Linked DNA regions of Homo sapiens: regions 1, 2 and 3 are each linked to region 4. Evidence: promoter capture Hi-C in 16 types of primary human blood cells and fetal thymus (Javierre and others, 2016). All regions are on one chromosome and are shown on one strand. The core of a region is centred on a gene start or on the middle of the fragment in contact, and the rest is flanking DNA. Distances in the headings are between cores, read along the strand shown. Region 1 overlaps LINC02568 (long intergenic non-protein coding RNA 2568). Region 2 overlaps LINC02568 (long intergenic non-protein coding RNA 2568). Region 3 has its middle 51 kb from the start of LINC02568. Region 4 holds the start of FBXL22 (F-box and leucine rich repeat protein 22).

Region 1 (3,353 bases), core at 751-3,250, 180 kb before region 4:
TCGGATTGCCTGCATTAGAATTCATTTATTCAACAGAAATGTACTGAAAGCCGCAATGGGCCAAGCATCTGTTCTTGGCCCCTGTCCCACATTGGGAATCAATCTCTGACAGTAGGCTCCGGGAAGCTATCATTTTTAACAAGCTCTCCAAGAAAGTAGGATGCACAATAAAGTCAGATTCCTGTGCTGGGCTGAGTTTCCTTGAATTTAGGATGCCCTAAGCCATCCAGACCAAGGCCGGACAAAAGTATCTATTACCTACCTCCCCTCCAACCAACAAAATTCCCTTCCCCTCAGTGCAACTCCTGTCTGCTCAGTAATAAAAGGAACATATAGCATCTTGCACTGCTCCTGAACATCTCTATGTTTTCCAGATTTTCTTGTTTGATATTTTAAAGTTAAGAAGAGAATATAAATAGCAACATAGGCAAGGCTGGATCTTATAATTCCCTGTATTTCCCCGATCAGGGCTCTATTAGAATTGCATTCAACGTTTGTTTATTGTCTCTCTCCCTCTTGAACACAAGCTCCTTTGTCTGCGATATTCCTAGTGCCTTACACAGTGGCTGCCACCTAGTAGGTGCTCAATAAAAATCAGTTGAAAGTTGTAAAAGAGAACAGTAATCTCCGGAAGTTAAGATTCCCACATGGTTGCTGATACTCGCAGGCGTAGTCAAATTTTTCAGAGTCTGCCTTTAAGCCCTTAATGGATGCCTGATAATTCTCTGCAGTTTCTGACAGATAAATTAAGAGAAAATAAGAGTCCAAGCCATGTGAAGGAAGACGATTTGGGACTCAGAGGCCATTGTAAGGCAGGCTGGCCCTGGGAACAACCCTGCAACAGGCTCTTGCTTTACCGCCCCTTCCTGGTTCTACACCTGAGCGCTGGACCTACCCCGCCCAGGCCCACTGAGGCCCAGGCACCCCCAACACTTCTGACTTGGATGAAGTGCTATGCCATGGGCCACGGGATCTGGCTTCTCTAGTGGCCGTCCATAGGAGGCAGGAACTCCATCTAAAAATATGAGTGAGTTGAAGCCCCGTGGGTGAACTTTGACCAATGAGAGATGGGGGATAAGATCCTGCAGATAAATTCGTTTCTTCCTCACATCCCAAAAAGACTGTTTTGAGGCACAGTGGCCCCATGTGCCTCTCTGGAGATCTGCCATGTGAACCCAAATGCTTTGTGTTTCTTGTGAAGCTTCAGCCAGCTTGGCAACATCATCATGAGATTACTTTCCTGCCTGTTATGGGTTGAATTGTGCCCCCACAAACATATGTTGAAGTCCTAACCCCCAGTACCTCAGAATGTGAACTTGTTTGGAAATAGGATCATTGCAGATGTAATAAAAGACGAGGTTATACTGGAGTTGGGTGGGTCCTTAAGCCAAGGTGACTGGTGTTATAAGAAGATGAGAGACACACAGACACAGACACAAGGGGAGAACGCTATGTGACAACAGAGGCCGAGATGGGCATTACACCACCACAAGCCAAAGAACATCTGGGGCTACCAGAAACTGGAAGAGACAAGGAAGGATCCTCCTCCTAGAAGCTTCCAAGGAAGCATGGCCCTGCCGGCAGCTTGCCTTCATATTTCTAGCCTCCAGAACTGTGGGAGAATACCTTTCTGTTGTTTTAAGCCATCCCGTATGTATTAGCAGTACTTTGTTATGGCAGCACTTGGAAATTAGTACACCATCTCACTTCCATTTTCCGCTGACTCATGCTGTGCTCTGAGATTGTCCCTCCATAAAGTGTTAGCACAGAAACTTTGCCTTAGGCTTTGTTTTCTAAGGCAGTTAACAAGGTTATATATATGTATGTGTGTGTGTACGAGTTAAAGTCCATAGTGAACTTAGATCAATGATAGATGATTTTTAATATATATGCATTTACAAGCATAATATATATGCATTTACAAGCATAATATATATAATACATATAATGCATTGACTATATATGCATTACAAGCATATATATATATATGCTTAAATTATTTTTGAAGGGACACATAAGAAACTGGTAAAAAGGGTTGCCCCTAGGGAGGAGAAGTAGGGGGCTGTGGGACAAGGACAGATGAGAGAATTTTGTTTTCCTTTTTGTACCCTTGTCATGGTGGATGATATGGGTTTGTTAGTTGTTTATTTAAGGTAAATTTAAAACATTTTAAAGATAATGGCCTAGGAGGGTCTCTGAGGCTCTAAGAAGGACAAAAAGAGTATAGAGGGACTTGTGCAGACCTGGTAACAGGTAAGGGAGGTGTGTGGATGTCCCAAAAGATGCCAGCAAATTCTGGACCAAAGGCTAGTCAAGATGAATTAAGTTTCAGGAAATAAACAAGGGCAGGTGTCTCTCTCCACTACGGAGCTAACACTTGAGCAACCCCAGGACAGAGGAGAACTCCCCAGAGAGAAGAAAGAGAAGGAGAAAATACTGACTTGAGCAAGCTTAAAACTAAAATGACCAAGAAACACATTTAAGTGTCTGAATTTGCTTAGAATTGACTATTTTGTTATTGTTGTTTATATTTAATCAGTAGTTAAAATGGGAGCTCAAGATATTGTTTAAATTACAGAAAAACAAAATTCGATATTTGGGGGATACTCAAGGTTATAGCTTGGGAAATATTATACCCACACCTGTTATTTGGTTTAATCCTCTCAACCACCTGTATAAGGTTAGTATCCCCATTTTACAGATGAGAAAACCAAGACCTAGAGAAGTTCAATGACTTAATCAAGATTATACAACTTTGAGGACAGGCATAGTGGCTCACACCTATAATCCCAGCACTTTGGGAGGTGGAGGAGGGCAGATCATCTGAGGTCAGATGTTCGAGACCAGCCTGGCCGACATGGTGAAACCCCATCACTACTAAAAATACAAAAATTAGCTGGGTATGGTAGCACAAGCATGTAATCCCTGCCCCTCAGGAGCCTGAGGCATGAGAATCACTTGAATGCAGGAGGTGAAGTTTGCAGTGAGCCAAGATCGTGCCATGGCACTCCAGCCTGGGCTACTGAGTGAAACTGTCTCAAAAAAAAAGATTATACAACTTCTAAGTGTTAGAGCTGGCACTTGAATCTAGGCGCATGTAGACTCCAAACCTGATCCTCTCTTCCAGACTCCAGATTTCTTTTTGAGTGGGGTTTATTCCAGCATTTCTAAGAGAGGTTCACACATCTGTCAACTAAGAGGCTGGTTGGCTCTTAAGGACCAAATCATGCTCTTGGGTTGGGGGTAGAAGAGGCAGAATCAGGGGAGGAATGGAAGACATAGAGGGAGAGACGTGAACTTCCACTCCCATCCATCTCTGTATCCCTTCTTGAAGAAGGGTCTCTTGTCTAAAT
Region 2 (3,681 bases), core at 1,102-3,601, 190 kb before region 4:
TCTGCCAAGTCTAACATATAAGGGCAATTGTGAAAGTTATCCTGTGGTTAGACATTCCTGGGTCTCTATTCTCGAAGAATCCTGCTAGTTACATCCTTAGTGGGTATCCTTACACACAACCCATAAAATGTACCAATTTGCTGGTGAAAATTATGAAAACAAACAAAATTTTCTTTTGAAATTGTTACCTTTATTTTTGATAGGAATTTTCACTAAGTGGGATTCCTAATTGCCCCATAGATAGATTAGCCGTGCTGTGGACGAGACGTGAAAAAGGTAGATGAGTAAACTGAAGTAAGATGAATAATAGTTATGTTGTCCCTTTTCTTTGAATGATATACAGTAGTTTCTTCCATGTGTTTATTTTTTTTCTTTCCTGGCAAGTAGGTCAAGAAAGTGTTATTAATATTATCATCTTGGTAAACACTGAGATAAGGAGAAATTAAATTAATTTTTTCAGTAGATTGTTACAACACTGGTCCTTAATTTGTTCATACCTCTCTCTACAACATCCTTGGATAATACCTTTCGCACTGACTCAAGGCTTAGCCATGTATCTTTCTTTGGCCAATGGGACAAGAGCAAATGTGACACAAGAAGAAATATTCAAGCACTTGCACACTGAAGCTTGCTTTCTCTTGCTGCTCTTTTATACCCTGAGACCACCATGCTGAGAACATTATGTGAAGCCTGGGCTAGCCTAGTGGAGGAGGAGAGATCACATGGAGCAGAGACAAACCATCCCAGCTAAGTCCTCCTCAACTAACCAGCCTGTCAATTTCATGTATGTGAGGGAGGCCAGCCAACCCCAGTTGAGCCACCTACACACCTCCGATCTGCATACCAGCCTAGATCAGAACGGCTCAACTGACTCACAGAATCATGAAAAATGATGAGTGTTCATTGCTTTAAGCCACTAAGCTTTGGGGTGGTTTGTTTTACCCCCAACCTAACTGGTACATTCCCCAAGAAAGCCTAGTCAGGCTAGATTCTAGGGGTCCTGATCCCCAGATTCATGTTCAATTGCTACTACTCCTCTTCTGTTCAAAGGCCAAATTTAGATATGCAAAACTTAAGGATTTTATTTTGGATCTTATTGAATTTCCCAAGGGCAAAGGCCATGACTTGATTTATCCAGCTGGAATAATACTTTGCCTTATTAATAAAATAATGCTCAGGGAGAGGTGTTACTTCTCTGAAAAGGAACTAAACTTTAGTTGTTTTTACAAGGATAGAAGGGAAAGCTAACTGTTACATGTATAACTCTGAGAATTTATATAGGGCATAGATATTTCTAGTTACAAAGAAGGTTTTAGACTAAGGAACTCTCCTAAGAAATAGAACAGAGAGGATGGAAAAAGCAGGGCCCATATCTTCCTCATGATTTTGTCCCTGATATGGTTTGGCTGTCCCCACCCAAATCTTATCTTGAATTGCAGCTCCCATAATCCCATGTGTTGTGGGAGGGACCTGGAGGGAGATAACTGAATCATAGGGGCGGTTTCCCCCATACTGTTCGTGTGGTAGGGAATAAGTCTTACGAGATCTGATGATTTTATAAAGGGTTTCACCTTTCTCTTGGCCCCCATTCTCTCTTGTCTGCCACCATGTAAGACATGCATTTCACCTTCCACCATGATTGTGAGGCCTCCCCAGCCATGTGGTACTGTGAGTCCATTAAACCTCTTTTTCTTTATAAATTACCTAGTCTTGGGTATGTCTTTATCAGCAGCATGAAAATGGACTAATACAGTTCTTATGGCCCAGACCAGAGTCTTGCAGAGCTGCTAGGCTGCACAACTTCAGGAAACACTATTTACATTGAGGTCTGTGCAAACTGTGCCCTCTGCTCCCATCCCCAGAGTTGTGCAGTGTACATGGGGCCCCTGCATAGCACACAGTAAATATTTAAGAATGAATGTTAGCCAGGCATGGTGGCTCACACCTGTAATCCCAGCACTTTGGGAAGCCGAGCACGTGTGTACACACACACATTTGTGGTATTTAGCAGAAGTTTTTTTGTTTTGTTTTGTTTTGTTTTTTTTTTTAGAAAAGGTCTAGAGCTCTGTCTGTGCAGTGGCACAATTATGGCTCACTACAGCCTCAATCTCCTGGGCTCAGGGCTCAAATGCTCCTCTCACCTCAGCCTCCCAAGTAGCTGGGACTACAGTTGCACGCCCTCATGCCTGGCTAATTTTTAAAAATTTTTTGTAGAGATGGGGGTCCCACTATGTTGCCCAGGCCAATCTGGAACTCCTGGTCTCAAGCGGTCCTCCTGCCTCATACTTCCAAAGTGTTGGGATTACAGGCATGAGCCACAACATCCGGCCTTAGTAACTGAGTTTTAACTGCAACGAAAAATAAACCAAATTAGAATGAGTATCCCTATTGGGTAGCCTCCAGGAGCGCAAGCCACTTTGCTTTGTCTGTGACAAAGTAGGAAAATACCTAAATGAATTGTAAAGATCAACAATAGACCCAGAGAAGAAACTCACCAAATTCTGCAGGTTAAAAACGATAAAAAATAAAAGCTCATTTTGGCTAATGGTGACACCTAGTGGAGTATCAAAACTGTGGGGTTTTCTTGGAGTAAACTATTTTATTTCACACAATGGAGTAGGGGAGTCCCTGGGATTGTGTACCCTTGCTCCCTTCACAATAAGATAAGGAGATGAAGACCTACAGGCCTCCCAGGGTAAGCAAGTACAGTATTGCTCTAGAAGAGACTGTTTCTGTGTGCGGTTGCAGAAGACCTCAGAATCACACCAGAAGGTCTCAGCAAGTGAGATCAGGGGCCACTCATCACTTAAGACAATTATTCCTCTCAGTCTATGCCTTTCCACTTGAATGTCACTCTTTCTCCTGCTCCTTGCCCTCCTTCTTTCCTCTTCTGCTTTTATTTACCCCATGTTTATCCTCTGCCCCCTTTCCATTCTTAGTTCTCTAAGCCCATTGATGCCTCCCAAGATGTTACAAACCCCAGAGCAACACGATCTAGTATGGTAACCACTGCCCCATGTGGCTGTTTAAATTCAAATTAAGTAAAACAAAATTAAAATAAAAATTCAATCCCTCAGTCTCGCTGGTTCCATTGCAAGTGTTCAACAGCACTAGCGGCTACCATATTGGACAGCGCAGACGCGATCATTCCCACCATTGCAGACAATCCTGTTGGAAAGCATGGGCCTGAGGCTTTGTTTACCTCGCTCGGCTCACCTCTTTTCCTTCTCAGCACCTCTTCTCTAAGTGGCAGTTCTTGAGACGGTCTTTCTGCTCCTCCCTGTCCCTCCCTGCTCACTCCAGTCTATTGGGTGGCTTCCTGTTTTCTGTATATTATTATGTAAACTTGTTAACGTGACCTTGCCAAGGTACACACACAAAATATGTAATCACATTGGACAGTTTGTTCAGGACAATGATTTCAGACCATCTTGTTTTCCATGCATTGGAACACATCAAAATATTTTTAAACTCAACACATCAACACGTCATTTAAAACAATTATACCCCAGGCCCTTTTTTTTCTTTTTTAATCTATAGGTTCCTACTTTTTTACCTTGTCTTATGCTAAAGTAGCTTTAAAATTAAACAGTACATCTTCTTAAAAAATACCTAAAAATATATATTTTATGCATAGAACGGCTCTGGAATGAGACACGGGAAACTGGTAACACAGTGCTG
Region 3 (3,720 bases), core at 953-3,452, 160 kb before region 4:
AGGAACAGAAAGGTGGAGCTTCTTCCCTGGGGTTTGAGAGCAAGTTCGCTGCTGGCAGAGTCAGGATAAGAACCAAGAAGAAACCAGGTCCCTGCCTCCTGGTGCTCTGTGCTTTCCACTTGGCCTCCCTCTCGTCTGCCAGCTGCATCTGTTGTCACTGGAGAAGAGCAGGGTGTCCAGGCTCCTGAGCATCTCCTGACTCAGCCCTTGATGCACACAGTGACCAAGGGGGGAGTCATTCTGGGCCCTTCTGATGAGAAGGCATGGGTGGAACCAGCTGCGTGTGGCAGGGGAGGACCCAAGAGCTGACTCTGGGAGGACCCGTTTCTGAGAAGCAGAGGAAAAACAGGGCCCAATGGTGCCTTGAAATTAAACACATGGCATCCAGGTGGGCCAAATATGGAAACAAAATAACAGCCATACTCTGGGAAATCACCATCCTGGCCACATCTGAGGACACTGGTCCAGATTAAAAGGGAGAGAGGGAGGGAAAAGGGGCAAGCCAAAGAGGCTGAGCTACTGCCAGGTTTGCCCCTGAGGAGAGACGCCAGGGCTACTGTTCTAAGCTGCGGCTGTGACTGCTGGATGAGCCACAGGAAACTGTCATGGGGATGGCTGTAAGAGGCAGAGCTGAATAAACACATGCTGGATGACAGAATGACTGCATGGACGAGCAGGTGGATGACTGGAAGGAATGGGACAAAATGAAGGGAACCAGTGCTCAGTCATCCTTGTTTCCACAGGCAGAGGGTTCTGGTTGCATTTGCCTCTGTATTTCTGGAACTGTTTTTCGATTTGGAATGTTGGATTCTGGCTTTAACCAAATTTATTATTATTTGTATTTAACTGAAGTGGGCATGTAATGACAGCAGCCAAACTCCAGTGAAGAAACTCCCTCAATACATAGCTTGTTGGAAGACACCAAAGGGGGGAATACACTTGACCCCTCATCTCCTCTCTTACCACCTTCCCACCCACCACCAGCCCAGAAAGAGCACCCATTTCTGCCCTAGAGGAACTCTGAGGTCACCTTTGCAGAAATGTTGTCACCGGCCAGGTCACACCGGACCTTGCTGCTAACATTGGAATGGAGACCCACTATCCAAAAACCACATCTAAACCTATCCTTGTTTTTATCCAGTCCCTGACAAGAATTTACAAAAATACCGACTTGTGACTTGACTGCGAGGGGCCTTTGTTGTTTAATTTTAAGAGTACTTCTGTCCATGCAGCAGAGAAAATAGAGCACTCATCTTAGGGGCAGAAAACCTGGGCTCTGTTCTCAAGTGAGACATTTTATCACTTTGGATCTGAGTTTCCTTATTTGCAAAATGATATGATCTCTACCTCTCACAGGATGTTGTAGAAATCAAGTTGCAAATTAGATGATGCGTCTGAGCATTCTTTACAAAGATAAGCCACTCGTGATAATATTCATCAAGTGTCTGCTTGGTGCCAGGTGCAGTTTTAAGAGCTTTACATGAATCGGCTCATTTGATCTTCACAACACCATGAGGTGGGCACTGGTATTACCCACACCCTCAATGAGGAGACAAAAATGCGCTCCCAGGACCACTCAGCCAGGTAGGGGAAGCCCTGAGAAACGCAGCCAGGTAGTCTGGCTGCAGAGCCTGCGCTGTGAGAATGACACATTCTTCTGGGTGTCAAAGCCATCGTTAGAGTCTGACCATAACTTCATCAAGCCTGTCCATGTTGGAGGGGATGGTTGGGTGGTATTGGCATTGACATTCCAACCAAAGGCTGATTCCAACATGTGTACAAGGACCACCATTATTGCACATATTTGTCTGAAACCATTGGTAGAAATGTTTCTGTGGATTAGTGGCCCATGAAATTGTCACAGAAAAGGAAACGGAAGCTCAAGGAGGTTAACAGCCTTAGACCAAGTTCACCAAGCCAGGAAGCAGCATGAGTGGGATTTGAACCCAAGTTCCCAGAACCCACAAATCTGCCTTATGCCAGGTCACCTCACATACATCCTGTTTAGATGCTGAGCCCAGACAGCCTGGACAATGGGACAAAGTGAGGGAGCACACTGTTCTCCTGCCAATGGGGGTTCTATATGAATAATAAACAATAGTACAAAGACACAGGCGTGGCCAGGCAAAGGGATCATTTTGGAGTATGGGATACTCTCTGGGAAAGAAGACATGAACAGGACACAACAGTGGGGCCTGGGATAGGGCTGTGCAGTGATCATAGGGCAGCTCGGGACGCCAGAGGCAAATGCACAGACTCCAGAATCTTCCCTCAGGCCATCCTGGTGATGAACATACTTTCCCCACCCATGGCCCTGCCAAGTGGCTCTTCTGCCCAGGGGACCTCATCCCTGGTACACATCGCCTATGTGGTTCCTCAGTGGGGGCCTGGTCTCTGAGCTCACCTTGGCATGTCTGGAAGTCCCATACCCTATGCTTTGGAAGGCTAGAAACATACTTCTCTTTAAATGGGCAAGCCCCTCCCCGCACCATCATGCTGTTTAAAAATAAGAGTGGACCAAAACAGCAAGTTGGACTCTCAAACCCCTGTGCTTTTCATCCTGGGCCAGAAAACCATGGGGATGATTTCCAAAGCTCTTTCATTTGCCCAAATAGGGTGCCCACCTCACACTATCCAAAGACATTCTTCAGTATAGCCCCAGACAGGAGCTCAGAGCATTTTGAGCAACTTCGGAGCTCAACTGAGTCACAGCTTTGACTTTTTTTAGGTCAAGACTACTCATCTAAATAAGGCACAAGAGAAACTGGTGTTTTAAGCCCTTGTGACAAGATGAAAATAGCTCCCCCGCCTTCCTCTTCCCCACTCTTCCACCTTCAACACCTAACTTACAGAAGTCACCAGTCTGTGGCCAAGGATCGTAATTCAGACTGTGGTTAAGGGAATACCCGCCGGGGAGGCTCCTCTGTTAGCTTTGGACCAACAAGTGAGGCCAGGCTTCTGGCCGCTGGGCTCTGGCTTGGTCCTGGAGACCCCAAGTCTCTGAGATGTGAGAGATGACATGTGCAGGGTCTGATCACCGGCCATGTGAAGGCACCAGCTGACCAAACAGAGTGGCCATAAGCTGTGGCCTTGGAGAAGCTGCACATCTGGCTGATGGGCAATCATAGCTGCCTTTCCGGAGCATGTCCCCAGTAGGGATTCACATAGAGTCACTGCTAAGGTGAGGTTCAAGAGCGAGCACCCCGCACAGAAGAACAAACTGGAGACGAGAGTGAGGACCATGGTCAAGTTCCACTAAACTGGGCCCTGGTCTTGTTCACTGTTTTCTTGTGTGTCTTGTTCACTGTTCTTCCTAACATCTAACACGGTGCCCAGCTCATAGTAGTCTTCCAGTGGAAAAAGTTTCTCTTCTGGTGGCTACAGAATCAGTATGCTGTCTTGGAAATGTCAGATGTTTCAGTCCCAGTTCTGTTGAGTAACTTTAGTCCACAGTTTCTTTATCTATAAAATGGGTATAAGTCCCCCCAACCCGCCTTCCTCCCAAAGTTACAGCAATTAATAGGGGAATACTTTGAAAACTGAAAGCCTCTGGTAAACTCAAGGAAGTCTAAGTCTTGCTGATGGGGGGTGCTCTTCCTCTCAGCTCTTACGGTGCCCCAGTTTTAAAGCAGTTAGAACCTTGCAAGTACATAGCTGCGAATTATTTCTTTTGATCATTAAAGATAGGGTTGGGCGTGGTGGCTCACACCTGTAATCCCA
Region 4 (3,236 bases), core at 638-3,137:
AGTGGAAGGCACAAGTACCACTCTGGCCTTGCAAGAAGTGGAAAGAACCACCTATTCCTAAGGGTCAAACCCTCTGAAAAGCATTGGTTTGAGGAGGATTGGGGAGGGAAAGTGGAGATAATGTGGCTTTCTAATAACACCACCTGTGGTTTTGCAGCATCCATTTTAAGTGGAGAAGTACACCTAGACAGAGCCTAAATTAGGGTGTCAGCTATAATTCAGAACTACATTGATGAGCTTGAAATAGCAGCAGTATCTTGCTCCCCTTCCTTGGGAAATGCTTCCTTTCGACCTCCTTGGTTTGTTTTTAAGAGAACCCCCTACTGTACTTCATCTTGGCATGGTGGAGTAATGGAGGCACAGGGGCACCAGCTGAGGCTGGCTTCTCAGGAAAGCCACTGACAATGGCTACTTCCTTCTTTGCTTGACTGCCTTCTGCTTTAAAGGCAAAGCTGCACCAGCCCTGACCAAACCTTAGTTCCAGAAGTGGGTTCAGCATAGGCTGCTTCATTTGTGTCTATGGGAAAACACAAGGATTCCCATTCCCTCTTATTCCAAATGGGAGAACAAACAGAAGTAACCACTGAGGTGGTGGTCCCTGGGCTGGCAGAGGAAAAACCATTCTCTTCTCACTATTGCCTAGGCAGAACGTGGCCTATACAGCTGCACCATATCAGCATCCCCCAAGCAAACCAAAAAACAACGACTGGGATTCAAAGCAGGAGAGTTAAGGTTGGGTCCTGGGTTTGGGAGTGAAGCAGCATGAGGAAACGGGTCTGCCATATCGTGAAGCCTCGGGTACTCAGGAAGGGGGAGCTTCACGGATAGTACCTCCAGGCACCTTGCCTAGAGTTGAGTCAGAGAGGGCAGGGGTGGCCCACTGGCTTCTCCAAGAGGGAACGGAGGGCACTCATAGAATGGATGGTGTGTGGTCAACTTAAAGGCAAAGATGGACTAAAATACTGAACTTAAAATTGTTTCAAGCAGTTTCACATTAAGAGCTACCTCATCCATCCTGACATTTTGGGAAGTACAGGTTATACATAGTACAAGGCCTTATCAGTGAGAAAATGTAAAGCCAAGTAAATTTAAATTTAAAACACAGAAAGTACTGCTTGACCAAAACTACAAAAACAACAACAACAACAACAAAGCACCAATAAAACATAAAACACAGACACACAACTTTGGAAAGCAGCTACTTCAGTAAAATTCTTTTATGAAACAACTCAGGGTAAAAATCTAGCTGTTGGGGAGGCCCAGGAAAATCCCCCTGCCTAGTGGCAGGCAGCAGGGCTTGAAGGCCAACCAGCCTAGCCTGGAGACAATTACTCTATGGCACAAAAATAACAGGAATGAGGCAGCAGCCATGGACTCTGCTCACAACTCACAACCGTCACCCTTAGCTCTCCACACGCAACAGGTTTCTTCCTAGTAAGGGTGGAGCAAAAGATTCACACTGATGTACTAGAAAATCAAAACAGTTAACATTTACAATTACACTCCTTCCCCCTAAGTACAGACTGCAAAGCCAGACAGAGCTGGCCTGGCCGCCACCACTGCCAATGAAAACGCCTTGGGAAAAGCCAAAAGTGCTCACTGCTAAACACCATTGTCAGCTAAAGGGAAAAAAAAAATCCCTTTTAAGGAAAGTAACTTCAATAGGCTCCTTTTCTGCCAGGACCTCCAATCCCTCTGAACATAAGCCGAACCACAGACTGCCGCACATGTGTCTGGGTCCTGGCTTTTCTTCCCTCACCCCTCCGCAGAGCTTCAGCACCAGTTGTTAGCCAAAAATAAACACCATTCCTCAACCATATATGTCCACCGGCCCAGAGTCGGGGAGGAGGAGAGGAGGCAGGTCAGCCGTCCCCCGGCTGCAGCTGCACTCACATGTGGCCACTGCTCACCATGCACATAACCCAGCTCAACCGGGAGTGCCTGCTGCACCTCTTCTCCTTCCTAGACAAGGACAGCAGGAAGAGCCTTGCCAGGACCTGCTCCCAGCTCCACGACGTGTTTGAGGACCCCGCACTCTGGTCCCTGCTGCACTTCCGTTCCCTCACTGAACTCCAGAAGGACAACTTCCTCCTGGGCCCGGCACTCCGCAGCCTCTCCATCTGCTGGCACTCCAGCCGCGTGCAGGTGTGCAGCATTGAGGACTGGCTCAAGAGTGCCTTCCAGAGAAGCATCTGCAGCCGGCACGAGAGCCTGGTCAATGATTTCCTCCTCCGGGTGTGCGACAGGTAGGCCACCTTGCCTCCTGAGCAGTGCTGGCCCCGCTAGCTCTGGCTTCCCTCTTGGGGGGCAGGGAAGAGCAAATTACGAGACCAAGATGGCTCCACCTTCGGGGCGCCTCAAACTAGGCCCAAGGCAGACATCCAGACCGCCCAAAGCAGGGTCCCCAGGAGACAATAAAATCATGAGGGAAACAATTGCTAATCCTCCTCTTAGCCTCACAGGTCCTGGGCTGCTTCATGCAAACACCAAGAAGTGGGGCCTCCGTACTGGTAGTCATTAAGTGCTGGGTGGGTCCAGCTGGGCCTGGATTTTCAAGGTCAGGCTCTGGGAAAAGGCTTCCAGATGCAGCAATCAGCTCACCCCTCCATTAGGCCTAGCAAGCAGCCCTCAAGGCCTGGGAAACTACGGAGGAAAGAGAGGGTGGGGAGCCAGAGGTGGAGAAGCCAGGGTGCTCAGGTCAGCTGAGCCAAACCAGACTCCAGGAGTAGATGAATTACTGATTTACACAGTATTCCTAAGGAGGGTGGCTTAGCCTAATTTTTCAAATTAGCAAACTGATGCTCCACGAGGTGGTATGATTTGCCCAGTCTAGGGTTGCCAGATTTTAGCAAATATATAGGCTGCCCAGTTAAATATGAATTTCAGATAAACAGTGAATAATATTTTAGTGTAAGTATGTCCCAAATACATCTTGTGTTTATCTGCTAACCCCCACCCCAGACACAGACATAGACACTGAACCACCAGGCCAGGCTCCCTCCATGGTCCCAGCCTCATGGGCAGAGCGGCCCAGGCAAGAACACAGAGCTATTCAACCAGCCTCTCACTGAGCTTCTGCCAGTCCCGTGCTGCCTTTGAGGAAAAACACCCCCTTGATCATATAACAAACTGGCCCTGGCTGTTCATGGAAAACTAGACTCAGCCAGTTTACTGCCACCCAAGTTCATAGCTGCTATTTGCTGGCAGCACGACAGGAGTGGAAGGAAACAGCGTAG

The links. The method cuts DNA at HindIII sites, captures the fragments that hold promoters and counts their contacts. A CHiCAGO score of 5 or more calls a contact.
Region 1: a fragment that was not itself captured here is called in contact with the fragment with the promoter of FBXL22 in region 4 in 2 of 17 cell types (M1 macrophages and endothelial precursors); the score reaches 5.7 in M1 macrophages.
Region 2: a contact is called between a fragment that was not itself captured here and the fragment with the promoter of FBXL22 in region 4, in 2 of 17 cell types (M1 macrophages and M2 macrophages). The highest score is 6.5, in M1 macrophages.
Region 3: a fragment that was not itself captured here is called in contact with the fragment with the promoter of FBXL22 in region 4 in 1 of 17 cell types (non-activated CD4 T cells); the score reaches 6.1 in non-activated CD4 T cells.

The regions. Positions count from the first base shown.
Region 1 is chr15:63,418,941-63,422,293 of GRCh38, forward strand. The region is part of intron 4 of LINC02568 (long intergenic non-protein coding RNA 2568); the gene reads left to right. Among named protein-coding and RNA genes, the nearest start is that of LINC02568, 30 kb to the left of the region's middle. The HindIII fragment of the contact is 895 bases long and covers 1,554-2,448 here.
Region 2 is chr15:63,400,437-63,404,117 of GRCh38, forward strand. The region is part of intron 4 of LINC02568 (long intergenic non-protein coding RNA 2568); the gene reads left to right. Among named protein-coding and RNA genes, the nearest start is that of LINC02568, 12 kb to the left of the region's middle. The HindIII fragment of the contact is 2,865 bases long and covers 920-3,681 here.
Region 3 is chr15:63,439,500-63,443,219 of GRCh38, forward strand. No RefSeq gene overlaps it. Among named protein-coding and RNA genes, the nearest start is that of LINC02568, 51 kb to the left of the region's middle. The HindIII fragment of the contact is 6,752 bases long and covers 1-3,720 here.
Region 4 is chr15:63,595,500-63,598,735 of GRCh38, forward strand. It overlaps FBXL22 (F-box and leucine rich repeat protein 22), which reads left to right and starts at 1,888. Exons shown (of 2, transcript NM_001367807.1): 1 at 1,888-2,246. The coding sequence starts at 1,894. The region is part of intron 1 of USP3-AS1 (USP3 antisense RNA 1); the gene reads right to left. The HindIII fragment of the contact is 9,685 bases long and covers 1-3,236 here.